2 separate regions of the Homo sapiens genome follow, and region 2 is linked to region 1. The links are contacts of gene promoters, found by promoter capture Hi-C in blood cells and fetal thymus (Javierre and others, 2016). All regions are on one chromosome and are shown on one strand. The core of a region is centred on a gene start or on the middle of the fragment in contact, and the rest is flanking DNA. Distances in the headings are between cores, read along the strand shown.

The links. Contacts are between HindIII fragments. The CHiCAGO score rates a contact against its expected background, and 5 or more counts as called.
Region 2: a fragment that was not itself captured here is called in contact with the fragment with the promoter of MED28 in region 1 in 3 of 17 cell types (naive B cells, total CD8 T cells and fetal thymus); the score reaches 7.9 in naive B cells.

What each region holds. Positions count from the first base shown.
Region 1 is chr4:17,611,769-17,617,008 of GRCh38, forward strand. It overlaps MED28 (mediator complex subunit 28), which reads left to right and starts at 2,873. Exons shown (of 4, transcript NM_025205.5): 1 at 2,873-3,045. The coding sequence starts at 2,887. MED28-DT (MED28 divergent transcript) reads right to left here and starts at 2,812. Exons shown (of 3, transcript NR_186331.1): 1 at 2,374-2,812; 2 at 2,164-2,270. RefSeq lists enhancers at 2,218-3,417, 2,523-2,812, 2,913-3,022. The HindIII fragment of the contact is 7,436 bases long and covers 1-2,963 here.
Region 2 is chr4:14,999,298-15,004,537 of GRCh38, forward strand. It overlaps CPEB2 (cytoplasmic polyadenylation element binding protein 2), which reads left to right and starts at 3,184. Exons shown (of 12, transcript NM_001177382.2): 1 at 3,184-5,038. The coding sequence starts at 3,377. It overlaps CPEB2-DT (CPEB2 divergent transcript), which reads right to left and starts at 2,748. Exons shown (of 8, transcript NR_038857.1): 1 at 2,641-2,748; 2 at 2,329-2,428; 3 at 1,864-1,932. RefSeq lists enhancers at 2,173-2,222, 5,064-5,240 and silencers at 2,463-3,322, 3,823-4,132, 4,183-4,332, 4,433-4,642, 5,023-5,240. The HindIII fragment of the contact is 344 bases long and covers 2,100-2,443 here.

The DNA of each region.
Region 1 (5,240 bases), core at 1,623-4,122:
GACCCTGTCTCAAAAAAAATATATATATATAGAGAGAGATTTGCAAAAAAGTAAAATGATGCCATACTTTTTACTTATTCCTTATTTTAGAAAATAGAGTATTAGTTTTAATAAAGATTGTTTTTGTTAACATTTAATGAATTATTTTTTAATGAATTGATTTTTAAAATTCTGTTTTTGTTTTTTTTGAGACGGAGTCTTGCTCTCAACCAGGCTGCAGTGTAGTGGCATGATCTCGGCTCACTGCAAGCTCTGCCTCCTGGGTTCACCCCATTCTCCGGCCTCAGCCTCCCAAGTAACTGGGACTACAGGCGCCCGCCACAACGCCTGGCTAATTTTTTGTATTTTTAGTAGAGATGGGGTTTCACCATGTTAGCCAGGATGGTCTTGATCTCCTGACCTTGTGATCCGGCTGCCTCGGCCTCCCAAAGTGCTGGGATTACAGGCATGAGCCACTGCCTCCAGCCTAAAATTCTCAGTTTTAACTTATCAGATAAATATTAGCAGACTTAACCCACATAAACAAAAACTTTGGGATCCTCAATAATTTTTAGGAGTGTAAAGGGGTCTTGAGACCAAAACTGTCTGAAAACTGCTGGAGTAGGCTTGTTTCCTCCTGGCGGTCTCTTCTGGTTCTTTCAGTCATCACATATTTATTATATCTATTATGCCAGGCACCATTCTAGATTCTGGGGATACAGGTGAATAAGATGGGCAGGCTCTGATGCACGGAACTTATTTTCTAGTTGGCATGTGTATGACAGAGAGAGAAGGAGGAGGAGGGCAGGTGATTCAGTTATGAAAAAATGAACAAGATAATTTCAGATTACATAAATGTTGTGAAGAAAATTAAACAGGGGAAAGTACTTAGGAGTGGGGATCTAAGTGAAACTGAGGCTGGGAAGATGACTTGATCCGAGCCTGGTTGGCAAAGGGAAGCTCCTGCTTTTTCTCTGAACATTTCTGCCCTGGCTCACTCCTCTGGCAATGAGCTTCCTGTGGTTCCTTAAACATCCCAGGCAGGCTGCTTCTTCAGGGATCCTTCGGTGTAGAAAGCACTCCTAGTTAAATTTTCATGCCAGTCACTACAGTCCAGATCTCCTTGGAGAGGCCTCCTCCAATCACCTATCTCAAAGAACACCCCTCTCACTAGCCATCCCCTTACTGGGTTTCATTTTCCTTCCCAGCTCTTCTCTCTGCACAATATTGCTATGTATTTATGTGCTTGTCTGTCTCCTTCCAGAGATTTGGGATGATTGCTATAACCTCCAGATCATTAAATAGTGCCTGGGAAGTGGAGCGCTCAGTAAGTGTGCTGGGTAATAACTGTAAAATCAGATATAATGAAAAAAAGTTATTTGGTTTTAAAGAGATAAATAAGAAGGTTGGGCACGGTGGCTCACGCCTGTAATCCTAGCACTTTGGAAGACCGAGGCGGGCGGATTGTCTGAGCTCAGGAGTTCGAGACCAGCCTGGGCAACAAGGTGAAACCCCGGCGCTACTAAAATACAGAAAAACTAGCCGAGCGGCGGGCGCCTGTAGTCCCAGCTACTCGGAAGGCTGAGGCAGGAGAATTGCTTGAACCCAGGAGGCGGAGGTTTCAGTGAGCCGAGATCGCGCCACTGCATTCCAGCCTGGGCGACAGAGCGAGACTCCGTCACCAAAAAAAAAGAGAGAGATAAGCAAATGTTAAAAGCAGGTTACTACAAGATTAGCAGCCTAGTGCCGGGCGCGGTGGCTCACGCCTGTAATCTCAGCACTTTGGGAGGCCGAGTCGGGCGGATCACGAGGTTAGGAGATCGAGACCATCCTGGCTAACACGGTGAAACCCCATCTCTACCAAATATACAAAAAATTAGCTGGGCGTGGTGGCGGGCGCCTGTAGTCCCAGCTACTCGGGATGCTGAGGCAGGAGAATGGCGTGAACCCGGGAGGCGGAGCTTGCAGTGAGCCAAGATCGCGCCACTGCACTCCAGCCTGGGCGACAAAGCGAGACTCTGTCTCAAAAAAAAAAAATTAGCAGCCTGGCGCCTTGGCTCATTACTGTATTCCCAACACTTTGGGAGGCCGCGGCGGTAGAATCACTTGAGCTCAGTAAAACACCTGACTCAACTAAAAAAAAAAAAAAAAAAAAAAAAAAAAGCCCGTCGCGACTGCACGCACCTGTGGTCCTAGCTACTTGGGTGGCTGAAGTAGGGGGATTGTTTGAGCCCGGGAGGTCGAGCCCTGATCATGACACTGCACTCCGGCCAGGGCGACAGAACGAGACCCTGAGAAAAAAGAAAAGAAAGAAAAAAAAAGATTAGCATAGTGACTTTCTCTTTGATGTAACCATAAATATTTAAAGACATCAGTGCCGGGCACATTGGGAACCTCAACAAAGTTGTTTCCGTTATCCATCTCCGACCAGAATTCAGGAAGAACTTTGCCTGTCTTGTTCCCGCTATAACCAATGACTCAACAAATGTTTGTGGAGTGAGTGGGTGACCCTCTCCTTTTACCAACGGTAAACAGCCCGCGGAAAGAAAAAGTGACTTAGCCAAAGTCTCTCCAGGCATTTGGGGCAGAGTCGGGACTAGCATAGTAGTATCCTGACTCTCGCAGGAGGGCTCGCTCCACTGTAGTTATTAATTCTCCTCTCCACACAACCAGGTCTAATCCGGCCAAAGTCTTCAATTCTTAAGCTAAGAAAAAAGGAAAATACATGTAAACTCTGTTTTGCGATAGACAAGAAAACAGAAGAATTAAAAATCCTCCTTCCGGGGTGCACCAGAATCCTCCCATCGCTCGGTCCTGTCACGTGACCACGCCTACTACACCAGCCACGTGAGCTTCTGAGCCGGCTTCCGCGCAGGCGCAGTGGATCTCTCTTGCGCCATTCCAAACATGGCGGCTCCACTAGGGGGTATGTTTTCTGGGCAGCCACCCGGTCCCCCTCAGGCCCCGCCGGGCCTTCCGGGCCAAGCTTCGCTTCTTCAGGCAGCTCCAGGCGCTCCTAGACCTTCCAGCAGTACTTTGGTGGACGAGTTGGAGTCATCTTTCGAGGTAATATAAGACATGGGCGTCTTTGTCCCTAGCCTTCCCTTTTTTCTGAAACGTGAACTGCGCGTACGCGTATCTCCTCCAGGGATCCGAGCAACTAATTCACAAATGGGGAAACTGAGGCTTAAAGTAAGTCACTTGCTTTAGGCTTCCCCGTGGCCCGTATTCAATTCAGGTCTGCTGGCGGGGGCGCGTAAACTCGACGTTTGTGGAAACGTGAACCCGAAGTTTGCCTAAACCCCAAACTTGGAACCCTTCCAGATTCCCAGCCGGTCCTTAGTCTCATCCCCGAGCACCGTTTCTTGCATCCCTGCATGTTTAGTAAGAGGCTCAAGCCTTTTCGGAGCTGAGAGTTTCACTGCTGTATCCTGTATCCTTTCCGCTGGGCTTCACCTTTAAACGATCCTAAAGGGACTCTTAAGAGCGGAAATTGACTTAAGTTACCAGGCGCAGCTTGGTACTAAGAGCTGAGGAAGGAGGAATGCTGGAGGTTAGGGAGGGAGGGAGGCACAGGTGACCCAATCTCTCAGTTTTGCCCAAGGAGTTTACCTTGTAGCAAGAAAGGTGAACTGTATATTGAGGGAAGATAGAGAGGTGAAAATAAGTGCTCTGGTGATTTCCAGTAGTCTTTAAAGTGGAAGATGAGCTATTCCTGTGTAGTAATAAAGTAATGTACGTTCAAATTGGAGTTAACTTTTCCACATTTTAAATCCCAGTTTTGCCGGGCGCGGTGGCTCACGCCTGTAATCCCAGCACTTTGGGAGGCCGAGGCTGGCGGATCATGAGGTCAGGAGTTCGAGACCAGCCTGACCAACATGGTGAAACCCTGACTCTACTAAAAATACAAAAATTAGCCAGGCGTGGTGGCGTGCGCCTGTAATCCCAGGTACTCGAGAGGCTGAGGCAGGAGAATCGCTTGAACCTGGGATGCGGAGGTTGCAGTGAGCGGAGACCGCGCCATTGCACTCCAGCGTGGGTGACAAGAGCTCGACTCCGTCTCAAAAAAGTAAAATAAAATATAAATAAATAAAAATCCCAACTTTGTGACTTTTGTATTGTATCTAATAGCACAGTGGTAAATGAATATAATTTGCAAGCGATTATTCAGACTGCATGGACAAAATGCTTTTACCACACGGATGTACAAAGATTTAGAAATAAATGATTTGAGATGGAGTCTCACTCTCTCGCCCAGGCTGGAGTACAGTGGCGCAATTTCGGCTTACTGCAACCTCCGCCTCCCGGGTTCAAGCGATTTTCCTGCCTCAGCCTCCCGAGTTGCTGGGATTACAGGCACCTGCCACCATGCTATTTTTTTTATTTTTTAGTAGAGACAGGGCTTCACTATCTTGGCCAGGCTGGTCTCGAACTCCTGACCTCGTGATCCACCCGCCTCGGCCTCCCAAAGTGCTGGGATTACAGGCGTGAGCCACTGCGCCTAGCCAGAAATAAATGATTTAAAGGACAGACCGTTTAGGAGGAGGAGGAGGAGACACCTTTGAGGTGGTGCTAAGTGGTAAAGGAAGGGGCTGGTGAACTTTAGAGCAGCATCTAGCATTGTGCTTGAGGGGAGCTGGCTCTCAGTCATGGGCACTTGCTGAAAGACTGGCCCTGTACAAGTCTTAGCCAAAGTTGACTCCCAGCACCCTGCTGCTTAAAAACGTACAGTGGCTGCTTGTTGCCCTTGAGATAAGATCAAGATGTTTAGTGTGGTCTCCCAGGCTTTGCATGTTGCGTTCTCTCCTTCAGACTCGTTTCCTTACTGCAGCCACACAAGACTTTCCCACGTGTACCATTTGTTTTCTCTTTGGGCTTCCAGGCCGCTCCTCAGCTCACTGCATCACTTCCTCAGTGGACCCTTCCCTGGCCTTCTTTTTAATACTTACCATTAAATTCGGCTCCATGAAGTCAGAGACTACCTGTTTTGTACCCCCACCCCTCACATTGTGTAACCTGTAGTGCTAATACAGTGGTAGTAGATAGCAAGTGCTAGATGAATATTTGTCAGACATTGAAGGAATCTGTAGTGTGGAGCCTGTAGTGTAGTTGGCTTGTGCACAGAACTCCTTGCCTGATTCACATATATGTCTGTAGGTGCCCTTGAGAGAGAACTCCCTCTGGGACTTGATTATCCATACAGAGAATACAGAGAAAACCAGTCCCTGCCTTCAGGAAGCTTGTAATAAACGGCAGGCAGT
Region 2 (5,240 bases), core at 1,022-3,521, 2.6 Mb before region 1:
GAGAGAAAACTGTTGGAGCCCATGTCTTGAGTAGGTTAGAGGTAGGATCTGCTCCGCCAGTGGAGAGGCTGGCCTTAGACAGGAGTATGGGCAGATGGGCCATCCATTGTATCGAGAGGGAAGGCAAGGTGTGCAGGGACAGATGCAGGGAGACTGTGGAAGTTTTCCTGTGGTTGCTTCTTTTTTCTCAGTGAAATAAGCATGTAGCTCAGCAGCTGAGAGTGCTACATGCTAGCAGATGCATGTAGGAGAGATGTGACAAGAGGTTTTCAGATTGAGCAGAATGTTTGAAATGGTCTAGGACAGTGGTTTTTCAGTTCATAATCTGATAGAGGGTGTTAAAACCAACTTTGTAATTTGAGATCAAACGTGATTTTAAAATGAAAATAGAATTATAAAAAGGAGTTTGTTGCATTATTAAAAGAATTGCTTAATAGCAGCTTTATTTCAGTTGCATGAGTGTGTACTTGCACATATATTGGGTTGTAGCAAAAATACTTTTAAAAATACTTGCCCAGGACAGTGGGAGTAAATGAATAAGGGACTGTCAAATACAAAGTCAAGGTCCTAGTTAATGATCATGAGTCAAAATATTTTCATGTAAAAAACCAAAAAAATCATTGAATGGACTCATAAGATCTTGGCATGGAAACTGCTAGAGGACCATAGTCCCTCCTCAGTATTTGCTGCTCCTTCTCCCTACCCCACTCCACTCTCCACCCTAGGAAACCTTTTCATTTGAATATTTTCAATAAGGGCAAGATCACCAGCTTACAAGATGTCAGAAAGTAACTTTCTGCTCTAAAAAAATGGGGCCCTCACAAAAGTAGTGAGTAGAGGCCCTGGCAGGATTTGGAATTTGGTGTATTTAATATGAAGTTTGACATTATTATGTAATAACAAACTTGATGGCTTTTCCCCGTTTCAGAGAGCTCTAAATCCTCTAAGACAAAACTAGTACCAGAGCACTAAGAAATCTTGTTTTTGTTCAAAACTCTAGCCCAGAAAGGCACCAGTTAGCTTTTAAAAGTATGTGCTCTCTCCTCTTTACTAACTGCGGTGTTAGTGGATAATTGAGCTAAGGTTTATACCTGTATTTTCCCCCTATTTCAAGATTTGTTGTTGGATCTGCAAATGATTCCAATCAAATACAACTGTACTTGGAAAAAAATCATCCGTTGTTAAGACTTTACATTCCTTAGTTGCAGAAGTAGTTTTTTTTCCTGCACAATACCTTTTAAAAAATGAATATTTAATATGTCAATATATACTCTGAAAATAACCATTTATATTTTAAATTCTGAGCTCAGGTTATTTTCTAGACATTGTAATTTAGAATAAAAATACTTCTCCAGTTCTACATTTTGCCTGACTGTTAAAAATGATTTTGAGATTAATAAGTTGAACCAATTTTCTATTCACCTGACCAAATTCTGAACCATTTGAGTTTTTTAAAAAGTACTTTTTCCTTATTGTAAAGGCAACATAAAACTTGGTTCATTGGACAGGATAGCAGAGATAAACATTATACATGAAGTATAGTTCCCTGGGGCAATGTTGCTCTCTTTCTACCATGTTTATTTCGATTTATATAAATTTGAGACACTGAACAGAAGTAGAATTCAAATAGAGAATGAGGACTTATAAAAATGTACACTCTGCCTACATCAGTAAGAGTATGCTAATTTATAAAATTAAATATTTAATCTTAGTTCACTTGTAAACCAAAATCAAGTAAAGTCTGAATCCACCTTCTATTGCTTTGGGGGTTTGAGTCTATATTCTAGGATTCATTTAATAGTTTCATTTCTCTAAGCATCAAGCAAAACAGTTAAAATTACAAAACAGAAACATAAAGTTCACCTCATCATGTAGTATGGATCACTCTGTTATTCTTTATCTAGACCTTCAAATACTTTATGTAAAATGTTTCTATACAAAAGGAAACACAGGATTAGTTCCTCCTCTAATGCTTCTAAAGAGCTCTACCATGGAAAGCTCTCTCCCTTCCATTTTGCAAGTCTCAACAAGTCTGCTGCTGAGTCAGAACCTCCTTTTTTCCCTGATGTAAGAACTATTTCTCCCTTGAAAATTCATAAAGCTTAGGAATAAATTAGAGTCTCCCTGGGGGGAAGGGGCGGGGACGCCGGAATGAATGTGGTGGGGAGGAGTCCCACGCTGCAGCCCTGATGGCACACGAAAGGCTTTTATGAAGCGGAGCTGGCCCGGGGTTACTATGGGAGCTCGCCGTGGAACCCGTTCCACGCATCCGAGTGTGTAAATAACCACGCGGAGCGTGTTTGTTCCAGGGACTTTGTTCCTTCTTACCCAAGTGAAAATGCCTGGAATATAGCCGAGGCTTCATGTTTACCCTACAGAAACACCCTCGGCGGCTCTACGACGTCGGTGACAGCACTCCTACCAGCGCCTAAAAACAGAAACAAGCTTAGAGGGCGCTACCTAGGGCTACAAGGAGGCCCTAGATCGGGGACTCGGGGTCTAGAGGTGCGCGGCGAGGCGCTCAGCGGACTTCAAGCCGGCAGAGCCCAGACGCTAGTTCACCACAGGACCCCCGGGCTGGGCCGGGCTCCCGCGTTGCGCTGGGGGCCCCTCGGGCGCCTATTTCTACGCGGGTCGCACAGTGCAGGCGCCGGTCGGGGTCCCGGGCCTCAGTTTCCCCCGCGGGCCAGCCCCGCTCTGGGAAGCCCGAGTGGTGCAGCAGGGCTTCTCCCCACCCAGGGCGGAACCGAGGTGACAGGAAGGAGGAGGCACCGCGAGGGGCGGAGACGCGTGCGACCCAGGCAGACTCTGCGCGGATCCCGCGCCAAGGAGGGGCCGTTGCCCAGGAACCGTCCCTCCCTCCCGCGCGTGCTTGCCCTCGTGCGCGCGCCCGCCCAATGCTCCCGACCACTGTTTGCCAGCCGACCCCCACCCCAACCGGCCTGTCCATTTCCCCGGGAGCGGAGAGACCCAACGGGACACGCCGCTCGCTCCCGCCCTCCCGGGAGCGCGAGCGCGCCCTCGGCTGCGTCTGCATAGTAATGAGGGGCGGGGAGGGGCGACGGGGACGCGGTGGCCTCGCGCCCGCGCGTGCCGGGACGCACCGCGGGGGGCGGCGCGATTGTGAGGTGGCGCTGACGCACGTTCCGGGGTTCTTAAGCGGCCAGGGCGGCTACGGCGACTGCGACGGCGGCGGCGGCGGCGATCGCCGCGAGGGGTGGTGGGGCCGAAGTCGGTGCCCCCTGGCTCAGTCACGGTGTCCCTCTCTCACTGACTCCCCCTCCTTCCACCACGGCCGCGCAACCCCAGCGCCGGCGGCTTCCTAGGTGGGGCAGGGGACGAGGAGCGTCTCCTCCCGCTGCCGGCGGCCTGATAAATGAGGGATTTCGGGTTTGGGGTGCTGCAGACCGCCCCGCTCCGAAGTAGCAGTCCTGGGCCCCTGTTCTGCGGCGAGGCGTATGGTCCTTACGCCGTGGGGTCCGTCAACCCGCTGCCCTCCGCCACGCCCTTCGGCCCACTGTCGCCACCACCGTTGCCTGTCACCGGCTTCTTAGAGGCCGCCTCCCCCTTCTCCGTCCCCCTCGGCGGCGGCGCGGGCAGCCCGGCCGCCGCCGCTTCCTCTTCCTCCCCGTTCCTGGCGCATCAGCAGACCATGCAGGATGAGCTGCTTCTGGGGCTGACACAGCAGCCGGCGCGGCCGCTTTCGGGGGCGGCGGCCACGGAGAAACTCCCCGACCACCACCCCGGCGGCGGCACGATCGCGGGTGTGACCCACCTCCTCCCCTCCCAGGACTTCAAACCGAGTCTGCACCACCCCTCCTCCTCCTCCGCCTCCTCCTGCTGCTGCTGCCGCACCTCCTCCCCGCAGGACTTCAGTAAGCGGCAGCAGCAGCAGCTGAGCAGCCAGAAGAGGAAAGAGTTCAGCCCTCCCCACCTTCCCCACCCTCCGGACTCGAAGCCGCCGCCGCCGCCTCCGCCGCTCCACTGCCCCGGTCGGTTCAGCCCGCCGCCGCCGCCAGCCGGCCCGCTCCTCCAGCCGGCGCAGCTCGCTCAGCGCCAGCAGCAACAGCCGCCGCAGCAGTTCAGCCTCCTGCATCAGCAGCACCTCTCGCCGCAGGACTTCGCCCCGCGGCAGCGTCCGGCAGACCTGCCCCCGCTCCCGCAGCTCCCTCCCTCGCCGCCTGCAGCCCCGCGGCGCCGCCACGGAGGCGCGGGCAGCCCTCGCAAGACCCCAGCCGCGGGCGAGGGCAGCGCCGCCGAGTCCCCCAATGCGGGCTTGGCCTCCTCGACGCCGGTGAACCCCGCGCCGGGCTCCATGGAGTCCCCCAACCACCCTCTGCTCAACAGTCCCAGTAACCTCCTGCCCGGAGGTGCGCTTGGCGCGGGCGCCTTCAGCAGCCTGCAGAGCCCGGACCTTCCACACCCGGGCGGCGGCGGCGGCGGCGGGGGCGGGGGGCCCCCAGGAGGCGGAGGGGGAGGCGGCTCCGCGTCGCCGCCGCCGCTGCCCGGCTTCGGCACCCCCTGGTCGGTGCAGACCGCGTCGCCGCCACCCCAGCCCCAGCAGCCGCCGCCGACCCAGCCGCAGCAGCAGCCGCCGCCACCCCAGCAGCCGCCCCAGCCGCAGCCGCAGCCGCCCGGCTCGTCTGCCACCACCCCGGGCGGCGGCAGCGGCGGCTCGCTCAGCGCCATGCCGCCGCCCAGCCCCGACTCAGAGAACGGCTTCTACCCCGGGCTGCCGTCGTCCATGAACCCGGCCTTCTTCCCTAGCTTCTCGCCCGTGTCGCCGCACGGCTGCACTGGGCTCAGCGTTCCGACGAGCGGCGGCGGCGGCGGCGGCTTCGGCGGCCCCTTCTCGGCTACCGCTGTGCCCCCTCCGCCGCCGCCCGCCATGAATATACCTCAACAGCAGCCCCCGCCGCCCGCGGCGCCGCAGCAGCCGCAGAGCCGGAGGTCGCCCGTCAGCCCGCAGCTCCAGCAGCAGCACCAGGCGGCGGCCGCCGCCTTCCTGCAGCAGAGGAACTCCTATAACCACCACCAGGTACGGCGGGCGGCGGCCTGGCCGCGCCGCGGGACCGGGAGACCATGGGCGGGGGACGGAGGCGGGGGCAGGGCAGCCGGGGACCCGACCTTAGCCCCGAGAGAAGCCGCGACGGGGGCCACTCGCCCAAGTGAGAGTGGAACTGAGGGCGGACAACCGTGACAGGACTCGGAACCCCAGCCCCCGGTGGGTTGGGAGGGCA